Linked DNA regions of Homo sapiens: region 2 is linked to region 1. Evidence: promoter capture Hi-C in 16 types of primary human blood cells and fetal thymus (Javierre and others, 2016). All regions are on one chromosome and are shown on one strand. The core of a region is centred on a gene start or on the middle of the fragment in contact, and the rest is flanking DNA. Distances in the headings are between cores, read along the strand shown. Region 1 holds the start of RASIP1 (Ras interacting protein 1). Region 2 overlaps DBP (D-box binding PAR bZIP transcription factor).

Evidence for each region. Contacts are between HindIII fragments. The CHiCAGO score rates a contact against its expected background, and 5 or more counts as called.
Region 2: a contact is called between a fragment that was not itself captured here and the fragment with the promoter of RASIP1 in region 1, in 2 of 17 cell types (megakaryocytes and erythroblasts). The highest score is 6.2, in megakaryocytes.

Annotation. Positions count from the first base shown.
Region 1 is chr19:48,736,452-48,743,155 of GRCh38, forward strand. It overlaps RASIP1 (Ras interacting protein 1), which reads right to left and starts at 4,159. Exons shown (of 12, transcript NM_017805.3): 1 at 4,070-4,159; 2 at 3,695-3,835; 3 at 2,509-3,194. The coding sequence starts at 3,831. IZUMO1 (izumo sperm-oocyte fusion 1) reads right to left here. Exons shown (of 10, transcript NM_182575.3): 7 at 5,758-5,858; 8 at 5,338-5,491; 9 at 4,850-5,027; 10 at 4,401-4,577. The coding sequence ends at 4,457. RefSeq lists a silencer at 2,375-2,894, an enhancer at 2,412-2,951 and a cis regulatory region at 4,012-5,437. The HindIII fragment of the contact is 9,865 bases long and covers 3,782-6,704 here.
Region 2 is chr19:48,628,584-48,635,287 of GRCh38, forward strand. DBP (D-box binding PAR bZIP transcription factor) reads right to left here. Exons shown (of 4, transcript NM_001352.5): 3 at 4,861-5,072; 4 at 1,447-2,469. The coding sequence ends at 2,254. It overlaps SPHK2 (sphingosine kinase 2), which reads left to right. Exons shown (of 7, transcript NM_020126.5): 7 at 98-1,822. The coding sequence ends at 1,190. Among named protein-coding and RNA genes, the nearest start is that of DBP, 5.4 kb to the right of the region's middle. RefSeq lists a silencer at 5,968-6,147. The HindIII fragment of the contact is 2,907 bases long and covers 2,874-5,780 here.

The DNA.
Region 1 (6,704 bases), core at 2,909-5,408:
CTTAGAACTGTTCAAGTCACTGGATAACAGAGAAGACCCTGCCCTCCAGGAGATTGAAACCACCTCTTCCTAAACACCCTTCCCTGACAGTCCAAGTTGAAGCAGGTGACTGCACCACTGGGTACTCTGAGCTTTTTCTGGACCCAGCTGGAACCCTGGCACACAGTAGGCACCAAGGGGAAATGAGCTGAATGAATGGACTGATGTGTTTCCCACTAGGCTTGTGAGATATGGGAGGGTGGAAACCTCATCTGTCAACGTCCCCACTGTATTCCCCAGTGCCCCGAAAACTGTGTGGCCAGGCTGGGCGCGGTGGCTCACGCCTGTAATCCCAGTACTTTGGGAGGCTGAGGTGGGTGGATCACTTGAGGTCAGGAATTCGAGACCAGCCTGACCAACATGGCGAAACCCCCATCTCTACTCAAAATACAAAAAATCAGCCAGGCGTGGTAGTGGGCACCTGTAATCCCAGCTATTCGGGAGGCTGAGGCAGGAGAATTGCTTGAACCGGGAGGTGGAGGTCGCAGTGAGCCATGATCGTGCCACTGCACTCCAGCCTGGGCAACAGAGCAAGACTCCATCTCGAACAACAACGACAACAACAACAAAAAAACAAAAAGGAAAATGTGTGGCCTACACCAGGTGCTCAATGGATACTTTGTCGAGGGGGTGGCGGAGACAATGCTTATAATCGTCATTCTTTATTAAGCACCTACTCTGTGCCAAGCCCTGTGCTAGGCCCTTTATATACATTGAATATATTATCCCATTGAATCCTCACCTAGGATTTTACTGAGATTAACTGGCACAGAATGGGTTGGAATTCAAACCCCAGTTCAAAGCCCATCAGTTGAATTGCTACAACATTCTATCTCCCAAAAGGAAGCTCAGATACAGAAAAGCGTTTAGAAGGCTCCCTGAGCAGACCCGTGCTTTCAATGCGCCAGGCCCCACCCCTGCCAGGCGCGGTCCACCACCAGCTGTTTGACCATTGACTCTACCTTCTGTTCCAGGCCTTCCTTCGCCTCTACAGTGATATCTTCCTTCAGCCCCTTCCTTTCCCATGTGATCCCACTTGGCAGCCAACCCAGCCTAAGGCCGTCTTATCCAAGGCCGGCCCCTCAGCGGCTCCGCCCATCTTAGTCCCAGCAGGCCTGATCTAGGAACCTGTATTCACTCACTCTGCAGGTGTCGCCCCCTTCTATACTCCACCCACATAGGCCCTGCTCAGTAGCCACCTCAACCTACTTGGCAGAGCTGCCTCCTACCACAGAGACCCATGCTCACCACATGCCACCACTCCTCGCGGGACCCAACAGTTTTTGCCCCAGACCACGCTTTTCCACAAGCCCCGCCCCACCACAGGCCCCGCCCCACAACATGCCCCGCCCATCTGCTCTGCATCGCTCCCAAGAACATTGTCCGTGCTTACTCTTCCGGCTCCTAGGTCTCCAATTCCTTTTTCTTTTTCTGGAGGACAGTTTTTTGTTTGTTTGTTTGTTTGTTTTTTCGAGACGAAGTCTCGCTCTGTCCCCCAGGCTGGAGTTCAGTGGCGCGATCTTGGCTCACTGCAGCCTCTGCCTCCTGGGTTCAAATTATTCTCATGTCTCGGCCTCCCGAGTAGCTGGGATTACAGGCATGCGTCACCACGCTCGGCTAATTTTTGTATTTTTAGAAGAGACAGGATTTCACCATGTTGGCCAGACTGGTCTCGAACTCCCAACCTCAGGTGATCCGCCCGCCTCAGCCTCTCAAAGTGCTGGGATTACAGGCGTGAGCCACCACGCCCGGCCAGGACTAGTTCTTTAATTCAAAAAGACCCTTGTCAATATTCAGTATCAAAACAGTTGCACTATTGATTTCTCTTTCTCCTAATTGGCCCCAAGAGACCACATCAAAGGAGAGTACAGTTTAAGCCATTAAGCTGCAGGATGTACACCTAACAGACCTCGCAGAAACCTTACCAGAAAGTGGGGATTGGTTAGAGAAAGGAACTTTCAAAGATCAGCAAATTGCTAGTGTCCTCTAACCTACCACACAGGGCGAATCCCTTAGGCCCCTGCGGACTCCTGCCCATTCCACTGGACTCCACAAACGCTCCTCAGGATCTACTACTCCGCAGACCCCGCTACACACCCCACCTCCTCCAAGGCAGTCTGAAATGCCTGCAGAAGGCCCTAACCCCAATTCGGAGCCACTTCAGGCCACTCCAAGCCACCACCAGCAACCAGCCCCCGTCCCGCCTAAGCCCCAAGCTTGGCCCCTGTAAAACTCCTGCTCAATCAACAAGCCCCACCCAACTCTCAGGCCCGCCCATCTGGCCGCCCCCGGCCCTGCTCTAGCTCTGCCTAGAGTCCAACACGCACCGTCCAGTCCCCTCCCAGTCCCCTCCCGCGGGCCCCGCCCCCAGCCAGCCCGCGAGTCCCACAAGCCCCGCCCAGGCCCCGCCCCACGGACCCCGCCTCTCTGGCACCGAGTCCCCGCCCCAGAGCCCCGCCCGCCGCTCACCTTCGCTGTCCGCGGCCCCGAAGGCCTCCTGCTCCAGGCGCCGCGCCTCCTCGCGGCCGCGCAACTCGAAGCGCCGCGCCCAGCCGGGCCGCGCCCGCCACAGCTCCTGCACCAGCAGCGGGCGCTCGGAGTCGCCCAGCACGCGCAGGTGCTCCGCCCGCCACTCGCCGCTTCCCACGCCCGCCGCCGCGGGCCGGCCCAGAGCGTCGCACAAAGCGAAGGCGTCCACGCAGCTGCTCTCGCCGGGGCCACCGCCGGGGCTGCCTGCTAGGCCGTAGCGCTCTAGCGCCTCGGCCACGAGCTCGCGCGCCGTGGAGCGCGCCGTGGCCAGCACGCTCTTGTAGTTGGCGCCCGATGCCAGTCCGGCGCCGAAGATCTTGAGGACCCCCGGAGGCGCCGTGGCGCGGGTAGCCAGCGGGGGCTCGGGGGCCACGCCCGCCGCCAGCTCCGGCAGCTTCTTCTCGCTGGCCCAGCGCTGCGCGCCCCCCGGGGTCCCAGGGCCTCCTGCGCCGCTGGACCCCGTGGTCCCGGTCCCCGAGCCCCGGAAGAGCTGGGAGATGCGCTTGGCGCGGCTACCGGAGGCTCCCCCGGCCGCCTTGACAGCGCCCACTCGCCGCAGCTCCACGTGCGGCGGGGGCGGAGGTAGCGGCTCGCTGCTGCGGCTCCCCGTGTCCGACGAAGAAGACCTGGGAGTCCGCCGGGGAACAGAGTCGCGGGAGAGAGACCCAGGACGACACGCCAAGACGGGGGTGGGGGCATATTAGGAGGGAAGTGGGCAGAGACCCAGAGGGAGGACAGGGACCCAGGGTGGATGGACGGGGCGGGGGTGAGGGTGGGGACAGACGCGAGGCAAAGAGAGAGAGAAAAAATAAATAAATAAAGGCAAGTCCCACAGTAGGAAATTCCAAGAGGTGAGCAGGGAGGGGAGGAAGGAAGGTGAATCAATCCCCCTGCTCCTTCTGTCCCCGTCCCCGTGCCCATCCGGCCTCACTCCACCTCCTAGCCTAGCTCTTACTCCCACCGCGCCCTGGTATCACTGTGCCCCACCGTCTCCCCCTGCCCACCAGCTCGTTTGCCCAATTCAGGATGAGGACCGGAGCCAACACTTTGCAGGGACTGGGCAGTGAACAGGGACAGATGGGAAGCAGGTGTGCAGGGGCAGGAGTCCTGCAGAGATGGCACTCACTTGACAGAGGCTGCGCTGGGCCAGCGCCGCCCCAGCTTCGCCAGCTGCTTCCTGGGGGAATTGATCCACAGGCCCACGGGGAGATGAAGCTTCCCGAAGCGGGGGCTTCCGCCCTCCTTCCGTTCACCAGACAGCATGGCCCTAAGGGAAGGCGGGTAAGGCCCCAACTCCTAAGGCATTCTTGTGGGGATGGGGTGGAGGGAACCTGGACTCCGAGTCAGAGGGAGGAGGGGGCTGGGGCTCAGACTTGCGAGTCCAGGGGGAGGAGAGGGATGGTACCCTGGATTCCTGGGTCCTGGGATGGAAGATGGCTGGGGGACTGAGTCTTGGGGCCCAGGGAGGAGGGGTTTGGGCTGCTGGGTCCCTGGCTCTTACCCTGCTTCGGGTCCGGCACACCCGGAGGCCCTGGCTCCACTGGCCTGGGTCAGTTCCACTGCTCTTGCCTCTGCCACGGCTCCCAGCACTGGGTGGGGGACAGGAAAAGGCAAGAGGAAACCCGGCAGGAAGAGCGGGGAGGGGGCGTCCTGTGAGGAGACCAGGCCTGGGGGAGGAGATCTGGGTAGGGTTGGCCCTGCCCCATTCCTTGATTCTGGAATTACATCGCAGTCAGTTGGTCCCCTCCAGGACCCAAGGGTCCCGGTTTTCTGCCCTTCCTCCCTCAGGCCGGAGCCCATCCCCAGACCTCTCCTCTCGGGGAACCAAAGGCTAGAATCAGTCCCGTCCCGGGGAGTGAGTCAGATGCTTAGACAACAAGATAAATCTTTATTGTTGCCTCGAATCTGTGGCCTTTTCTTTTGGGACCTGGGTTTGCTCGGCCGCTCCACTGCCAAGGCCAAACAGTGAGGATTTGATGAAATCGATCACCTTCCTTCGACGAAATATCCTAGGGGTGGGAGTGGGGTGCAGATCATGGAACCGGTTTGGGTACTAATTGTGTGGGGGACACCCCTCCCAACCTCCCCCTTTGTGACCTTATTCTAGCAATTACCTAAGCCTCGCCCTTCGAAGTCCTCCTATTCAAGCCCCCCGCACTCCATCCCCAGGAAAGTCCTGCTCTCAGGCCTCAGTAGCCCCCAGACCAGCTTCTGTGTTGGGTTCCTGGAAGCCCCGCCCCTTACTCCAAGCCAAGCCTGTCTTCTTCAATGGGTTGCTTACGCAAAGGTAAGGCCGGTTATCAGTGCTAGGGAGCCGCAGATCAGCAGCCCCAGAAGGCGGCTTGCCAGCATTTTCTCGGGCTGCAGAGGCTGGAGGCTTATGGACGACTCCGTGGTCGCCTCCCCCGGGGTTACGATATTTGGAGAAGGTTTTTCCTCCTTGATCATTTTGGGCAACACTGTTAGAGAAAGCGTAAAGAGCAGTCCTGGCAGGGCGTGGAGTTCCTGCCCTGGCAAAGACAAGCCCGTCCCAGTAGCCGGCCATCCCAGAGATAATCACGCCTTCAACAGTGTCAAGCCTGAACACACCCAAGGGAACCCCTGTCCTCGGGGCCAGAGGCCACGCCCCCGGCAGGAAGCCACACCCCGTGCCCCGAAACCACACCCAACAGGAAGTCACGCCCCCATCGCCAAGGCCACGCCCCCGCCGCGGACCCCAGCTTTCCTGGGCCCTGAATCCTACACTTCTCTCAGCCCCACAGCACTGACCTGTGACGTGAAAATTGATGATCGTGGCTGGGCTGGAATTCACAGAGCCCAGCTCGCAGCGGTAGCTGCCTGCATCCTCTGGACCCACCATGGGCTTGGTCAGGGTGGCCTCTTTCCCCTTGGACACCAAGGTCTCCGTATTGTTCCCCCAAACCTAGACCCAAGCTCAAGGGGTCACTGAGGCCTGAGGAATTCAGGGGTTGGGGGAGTACAGGGGTGAGAAGATCACAGGGCCTCAGTGTGGGAGGTGAGTGTCCAGGGTGTCACTGGTCAGGGCACGGGGTCCCCAGAGGTCTGTAGAGACCACACCTAATAGACCACCCTCCTGGGTCATGAGAATCGTGGGTGCAGGCCCATAGATCCAGAACACAAGTATTGTAGTCTAGGGAGTTCAAGGGTTACAGAAGTTGAGGCCCTCACCCTGTAAAAGCTGTAATCAGTGAGGCCTTCCGAAGCCTGATGCCAGTTTAACTCACAGTCCAGGATCATGTCTTCCATTTGAGGAACTTCCACATTCCGCTCTGGGGGTGGGGGATGACCATGGGACACTCATGATTCTGTTTTTGTTTTTGTTTTTGAGATGGAGACTCGCTCTGTCGCCCAGGCTGGAATGCATTGGCGCGATCTCGGCTCACTGCAACCTCCGCTTCCTGGGTTCAAGCGATTCTCTTGCCTCAGCCTCCTGAGTATCTGGGACTACAGGCGCTTGCCACCACGCCTGGCTAATTTTTGTATTTTTAGTAGAGATGGGGTTTCACCATATTGGACAGGCTGGTCTGGAACTCCTGACCTCAGGTGATCTGCCTGCCTCAGCATCCCAAAGTGCTGCGATTACAGGCATGAGGCACTGCGCCGGGCCTCCTTCACGGTTCTTTACCCTCCCCTAATCCTTTACATTTGTTGTAACCTCGTCTTTTCTCTTTTCTTTCTCTCTCTCTTTTTTTTTTTTTTTTTTTTTAGATGAAGTCTCACTCTGTCACCCAGGCTGGAGTGCAGTGGCGCGATCTTATCTCACTACAACCTTCGCCTCCTGAGTTCAAGCAATTCTCTGCTTCAGCCTCCTGAGTAGCTGGGATTACAGGTGCCCACCACCATGTCTGGCTAATTTTTTTGTATTTTTAGTACAAAAACGATGGTTTCACCATCTTGGCCAGGCTGGTCTTGAACTCCTGACCTTGTGATCCACCTGCCTCGGCCTCCCAAAGTGCTGGGACTACAGGCGTGAGCCAGCGCGCCCGGCCTCTTTTTTTTCTTTTTAGACAAGGTCTCACTCTTTTGCCTGGGCTGGAGTGCAGTGGTATGATCATAGCTTACTGCAGTCTCCAACTCCTGGGTCCAAGCAATCCTCCTGCCTCAGCCTTCCAAGT
Region 2 (6,704 bases), core at 3,077-5,576, 110 kb before region 1:
TTCGTGGTCTCATTGCCAGCTGCTTTCCTACCTGTCTCTTTCCCCAACCCCTGTTTGCTCCTTCCTTCTGTGTGTCCGTCCATCTCCGGCTGTGAAGATTTGAGCCAGCCCTGGGCCTCGACCTGTTGCTCAACTGCTCACTGTTGCTGTGCCGGGGTGGTGGCCACCCACTGGACCTGCTCTCCGTGACGCTGGCCTCGGGCTCCCGCTGTTTCTCCTTCCTGTCTGTGGCCTGGGGCTTCGTGTCAGATGTGGATATCCAGAGCGAGCGCTTCAGGGCCTTGGGCAGTGCCCGCTTCACACTGGGCACGGTGCTGGGCCTCGCCACACTGCACACCTACCGCGGACGCCTCTCCTACCTCCCCGCCACTGTGGAACCTGCCTCGCCCACCCCTGCCCATAGCCTGCCTCGTGCCAAGTCGGAGCTGACCCTAACCCCAGACCCAGCCCCGCCCATGGCCCACTCACCCCTGCATCGTTCTGTGTCTGACCTGCCTCTTCCCCTGCCCCAGCCTGCCCTGGCCTCTCCTGGCTCGCCAGAACCCCTGCCCATCCTGTCCCTCAACGGTGGGGGCCCAGAGCTGGCTGGGGACTGGGGTGGGGCTGGGGATGCTCCGCTGTCCCCGGACCCACTGCTGTCTTCACCTCCTGGCTCTCCCAAGGCAGCTCTACACTCACCCGTCTCCGAAGGGGCCCCCGTAATTCCCCCATCCTCTGGGCTCCCACTTCCCACCCCTGATGCCCGGGTAGGGGCCTCCACCTGCGGCCCGCCCGACCACCTGCTGCCTCCGCTGGGCACCCCGCTGCCCCCAGACTGGGTGACGCTGGAGGGGGACTTTGTGCTCATGTTGGCCATCTCGCCCAGCCACCTAGGCGCTGACCTGGTGGCAGCTCCGCATGCGCGCTTCGACGACGGCCTGGTGCACCTGTGCTGGGTGCGTAGCGGCATCTCGCGGGCTGCGCTGCTGCGCCTTTTCTTGGCCATGGAGCGTGGTAGCCACTTCAGCCTGGGCTGTCCGCAGCTGGGCTACGCCGCGGCCCGTGCCTTCCGCCTAGAGCCGCTCACACCACGCGGCGTGCTCACAGTGGACGGGGAGCAGGTGGAGTATGGGCCGCTACAGGCACAGATGCACCCTGGCATCGGTACACTGCTCACTGGGCCTCCTGGCTGCCCGGGGCGGGAGCCCTGAAACTAAACAAGCTTGGTACCCGCCGGGGGCGGGGCCTACATTCCAATGGGGCGGAGCCTGAGCTAGGGGGTGTGGCCTGGCTGCTAGAGTTGTGGTGGCAGGGGCCCTGGCCCCGTCTCAGGATTGCGCTCGCTTTCATGGGACCAGACGTGATGCTGGAAGGTGGGCGTCGTCACGGTTAAAGAGAAATGGGCTCGTCCCGAGGGTAGTGCCTGATCAATGAGGGCGGGGCCTGGCGTCTGATCTGGGGCCGCCCTTACGGGGCAGGGCTCAGTCCTGACGCTTGCCACCTGCTCCTACCCGGCCAGGATGGCTGAGGGCGGAGTCTATTTTACGCGTCGCCCAATGACAGGACCTGGAATGTACTGGCTGGGGTAGGCCTCAGTGAGTCGGCCGGTCAGGGCCCGCAGCCTCGCCCCATCCACTCCGGTGCCTCCATTTAGCTGGCCAATCAGCCCAGGAGGGGCAGGTTCCCCGGGGCCGGCGCTAGGATTTGCACTAATGTTCCTCTCCCCGCGGGTGGGGGCGGGGAAATTCATATCCCCTGTTCGTCTCATGCGCGTCCTCCGTCCCCAATCTAAAAAGCAATTGAAAAGGTCTATGCAATAAAGGCAGTCGCTTCATTCCTCTCAGACCTTCTGCCCTTCCTCCATCCGACAGCCCGCGGGAGGACTCAGACTCCAGCACTTCCAGCAGCGCCTGCCCTCTATGGACGACAGCCCGGAGCTGCCCACGGGCTGCAGCCAGTATGCCAGGGAGCTGCCCTCTTCTTCCACAACAGCTGGCTCTGGGGTTCTCAAGATTTATTCAGGATCGTGTTAACGGAGGCGGTGGGAGGATAGGGTCCCTGACGTGCCGGGGACACACACAGAGAACCCTCCCCGCCCCCGCAAGGGAGGGGGGAGGCTCGCTTTTTCTTAAAAATATAAATGTATTTATCTGCATTATCACGTCCCTGGGGCACCCAGCTGGCCGGCCCGTGGGCCACAGGGCAGGAAGGGAACAGGGCGTAAGTCTCAGCAAGGCGGAGGAGAGCTCCGCCAGGTGGGGATGTGGGGCAGCCTCACAGGGCCCCGTGCTGGGCCTGGTATCGGGACAGCACGGCGCGGTAGTGGGACAGCTCCTGGCGCACGGCCACAACTTCCTGCCGCAGCAGGGCGTTCTCCTTCTCCAGGAAGGCCGCCCGCACCGATATCTGGTTCTCCTTGAGCCGCCGGGCGTCACGGGACCGCTTGGCTGCCTCGTTGTTCTTGTACCGCCGGCTCCAGTATTTCTCATCCTGCAGGAGAAGAGGGGGAGAGCACTGAGGTCCAGAGGGACCCAGGTCCCAGCGAGAGAGGAAGGGAGCCCCAGCAGCGGGGCCTAAACCACACCAGGTCTCTGCTGGGATAGGTACCCAAGGGTCTGCCTTTCTAGGGCCCTGGTTGCTAAGGAGATTGGGCCCCTAGCAACAGTAAAGGCATGAGATAGACCCCCCACCCTCAAGCAACTCGCTTCAAGTCTCCACTCTGCAAAGCGGACCCCAGCCCTCCCCACATGATAAAGGCCTGCATGCAGTTAGCTCTTGCTTGCTAAGGATGCTTGTTCCCTAGCAACAAGGCCTTCATGGTCTGAGGGCTTCTCCCAATGAAGAGCACTGCCCTGCCCTGCACATTGCCTTTCCAGATCCTGGTTGCTAAGGAAAGCTTGGTGCCCTGGTGATGGGGTTTGGTGTCCCATAAAATCCTCGCAGAGCTGGGGCCTTCTGACCTGGTTGCCAAGGCAACCTCATCCATCCTTGGCAAACAAAAGTGAGGTCTAAGTGGTTTCAATGACTGTGGCCAGCCTCTGACCTGCTGGCCTTGAACTGAGGCCAGAGAATAGCCTCCTCCCCAGTAGGACCTGACTGAGAGAAGAGCTGTCTCTTAGGAAAGGGGACTATCCTGAGACCTCCCCAGAGGATTATACCTAAAGTCCTCCCATCCTGGAAGTTGGTTCCTAAGGAAGACTCCTCCTTAGTAACCAAGGACCACGGGGCTCAGAAAGATGCTCTCTACTCCACTATTTAATTAAAGCCCAGTTCCTGCTTGTGAGGGTAAATCCAGTCCCTAGCAACAGGGCCCTCTAGAAGGAGAAACCACTGGTGTAGATCTGACTTCCAGGCCAGTCCTAGGTGCTTCAAGTAGCTATGTGTTACGCAAGGGTATGGCAAAGTCTTGTTTGTTTTTGAGATGGAGTCTCGCTCTGTCGTTCAGGCTGGAATGCAGTGGCATGATCTCGGCTCATTGCAACCTCCACCTCCCAGGTTCAAGCGATTCTCCTGCCTCAGCCTCCCAAGTAGCTGGGATTATAGGTGCCCGCTACCATGTCCGGCTAATTTTTGTTCTTTTTTTTTTTTTTTGAGATGGAGTTCTCACTCTGTCGCCCAGGCTGGAGTGCAGTGGCGCGATCTCGGCTCACTGCAACCTCCGTCTCCTGGGTTCAAGCGATTTTCCTACATTAGCCTCCCAAGTAGCTGGGACTACAGATGAGTGCCACCATGCCCAGCTAATTTTTGTATTTTTTTGTAGAGACGGGGTTTCACCATGTTGGCCAGGATGGTCTCCTGATCTCGTGATCTGTCCGCCTCGGCCTCCCAAAGTGCTGTGATTACAGGTGTGAGACACCACACCCGGAACATTTTTGTACTTTTAGTAGAGGCGAGGTTTCACCATGTTGGCCAGGCTGGTCTCAAACTCCTGACCTCAAGTGATCCGCCCACCTCAGCCTCCTAAAGTGCTAGGATTACAGGCGTGAGCCAACGCGCCTGGCCCGGAATGACAAAGTCTTGTAACAGAAGCCCAAGCAACTCTTGCTAGGGAAGACTCCAGTAATGGCAAAAAACAAAATCATGCAAAGATGCAATGACTGCTCAAATCACCCCAAATCAGAAAGTGGCACTGGCTGCTAACAGAAGCCTGAAGTCTCCCACCAGTGAGAAGTCCAGGCCCAGGAAACAAGGCCTAAAGGGGCTGGCACAGTCTTCATCCTAGCCAAATGCAATCACTCCAAAGGAAGTCCCACATCAGAGATCAAAGGCCTGCTGAGTAAGGAGAGACAGGCCACAGGCTGATATCCCATTGCCAAAGGAAGACTGTCCTTTGCAAGTGTGCCTGGTGGAGCTCTGGACCCAAGTAATAGGAGAAGCTCCAAGTCTCTACAAGTAGACCTAGCAGAGCTGGCTGAGTCAGCACCCCACAGTGACACTGTCTTTTGTTTTAAGACAAGGTCTCCCTCTGTTGCCCAGGCTGGAGTGCAGTGGTGTAATCTTGGCTCACTGCAGCCTCAATCTCCCAGGCACAAGCAGTCCTCCCACCTCAGCCTCCCAAGTGGCTTGTAGAAATGGGGTTTTGCCATGTTGCCCAGGCTGGTCTTGAACTCCCGAGCTCAAGAGATCCTCCTGCCTCAGCCCCCTAAAATGCTGGGATTACACGAGTGAGGCCCCTCGCCCAGTTGACACTGTCTTTATAAACCTCAGGCCCCTGCCCCCTTGTGCCCCGTGGCCAAGGAGGACTAATCTGTGGCTGCAGGCCAGGAGAGGCTGAGCACTAATCCCAAGGAGAAGCCCAGGCTTGACTGTGAGAAAAGGCCCCTCCCTGGCTGTGGGGCATGTCTCCAGCCAAGTCTATCTCCCACATCCAGCTCTGCTCACCTTCTGCTCCTCCGGCACCTGGATTTTTCTTGCCTTCTTCATGATTGGCTGGGGCTTAAGTTCCTCTTCTGAGAAGCGATGTCTTCGAGGGTCAAAGGTCTCGTGGCCAGGAATGCTTGATAGGGCAAGATCAGCTGGGTCGGGTTCAAAGGTCATCAACACCTCCACGGTGTCTGGGTCCACAGGGCTGGGTGTGTCCCGAGAGGTCAGGCCTTGGGGAAACAGCACGTGTCAGCTGAGTGTGTATTTTAAGGAGGGGGTTTCCTGAAGCTACTTTTTGCTGTGGTATCATAGCCACATGGAAAGTCCTTCTGGGATCTAGCATAAATTCGGCCAGGGATTAATCTCCCTAATATAAAATATGAAGGTTCCCTTGGCCAGGCGCAGTGGCTCACGCCTGTAACCCCAGCAGTTTGGGAAGCCGAGGCGGCGAATCACCTTTAGTCAGGAGTTCAAGACCAGCATGGCCAACATGGAGAAACCTCATCTTTACTAAAAGTACGAAAATTGCCCAGGTGTAGTGGCGGGTGCCGGTAAGCCCAGCTACTAGGGAGGCTGAGGCTGGAGAATTGCTTGAACCCGGACCCTGGAGGTGGAGGTTGCAGTGAGCTGAGATCATACCACTGCACTCCAGCCCGGACAACAGAGCGAGACTCCGTCTCCAAAATAACGAGAAAAATGAAGGTTCCCCTAAGCCATAAAGATGCTTAGAGATCATGGAGCCATATCCACCTTTACAAACAAGGAAACTGAGTCCCAGTCATAACTGACTTGCCCTAGGTAACACACGAATCAGGGCTATTGCTTCTACACTTGATCTTAGCCAAAAGGCCGAGAAGCGATGGGGCTATTGCTTCTAAAACCTCAGGACTTCAGATGCACAGTCTAGCCTGAATCCTACTTACCGAATCCACGACCTAAGCTTAGACCCCAGACTGTCCAGAGAAAAAGAATCTACTGCACTGAAAAGCTCTCAAGTTAGAGTCTAAGAGCTACTCGCTGGAAAGAGGAGGAGAAGCTGCTCTAAGGTTCCAGAAGATTGGTTCGAAAGGAGGCGCCTGTACCTTTAAGCACCAGCCAGCCGGGGCCAGCTAAGGACACAGGTTCAGGGCCGAGTCACGTGCTGACGCCTGCTTCCCTCCTCCTCCCTTCCTCCCAGGCCCCCGCCATCGGCGCCCTCACGTTCCCCCGGCCCCGCCCCCCTCGCGCTTGAAGGCGCCTGCGCGAAGCGCGGAGGAGGGATGGGAGGACTCACGTGGCGCAGGAATGTGCCGCTGGGAAGGGTAGGGCCCTGGTTCGGCCCGGAGGTCGGACCTGGAGCAGGTGTGCCCAGGAATCCCCGACCTGCAGTCCGTCCCTGGAGACCTCAATGTGCCCAAAGGGAAACATCTTTCCTCTTGCTCTTCCAGTCACTTAGTTCCACTCAACCTCCAAAGATTCCCAACCCCCTGCTCTCCGGGGAGCATCGGCCTCCTGGACCTTCCCAGAACCCCCGCCACTGGGCTACCACGATTCTGGGATCCCAGGCCTCTCCTAGGAATATAGGAAGCTTGGCCCCAGCCCCAATTGGAGGATCCAGAAACAACATCCCTAACGTTTTCCCTTCTGAAGAACTCTGGGACCCGGGGCTGCAGCACGCCCCACTGGGGGACCCAGGGACCTGGGCTGCCAGTCTCTTATGTCCTGGGTAAACAGAATTCTGTGCCTCTCCTTTGCCTTTGCCCCTGTAAAGGACCTAGGGGCTCCAGTCCTATCCCAGTTCCATCGATTATGGGCCCAGATTCGGGGGTCAGTCCACTCCCCAGTAAATAACTCTGGTGTTCCGGACTTCCAGTTCTGGCTTC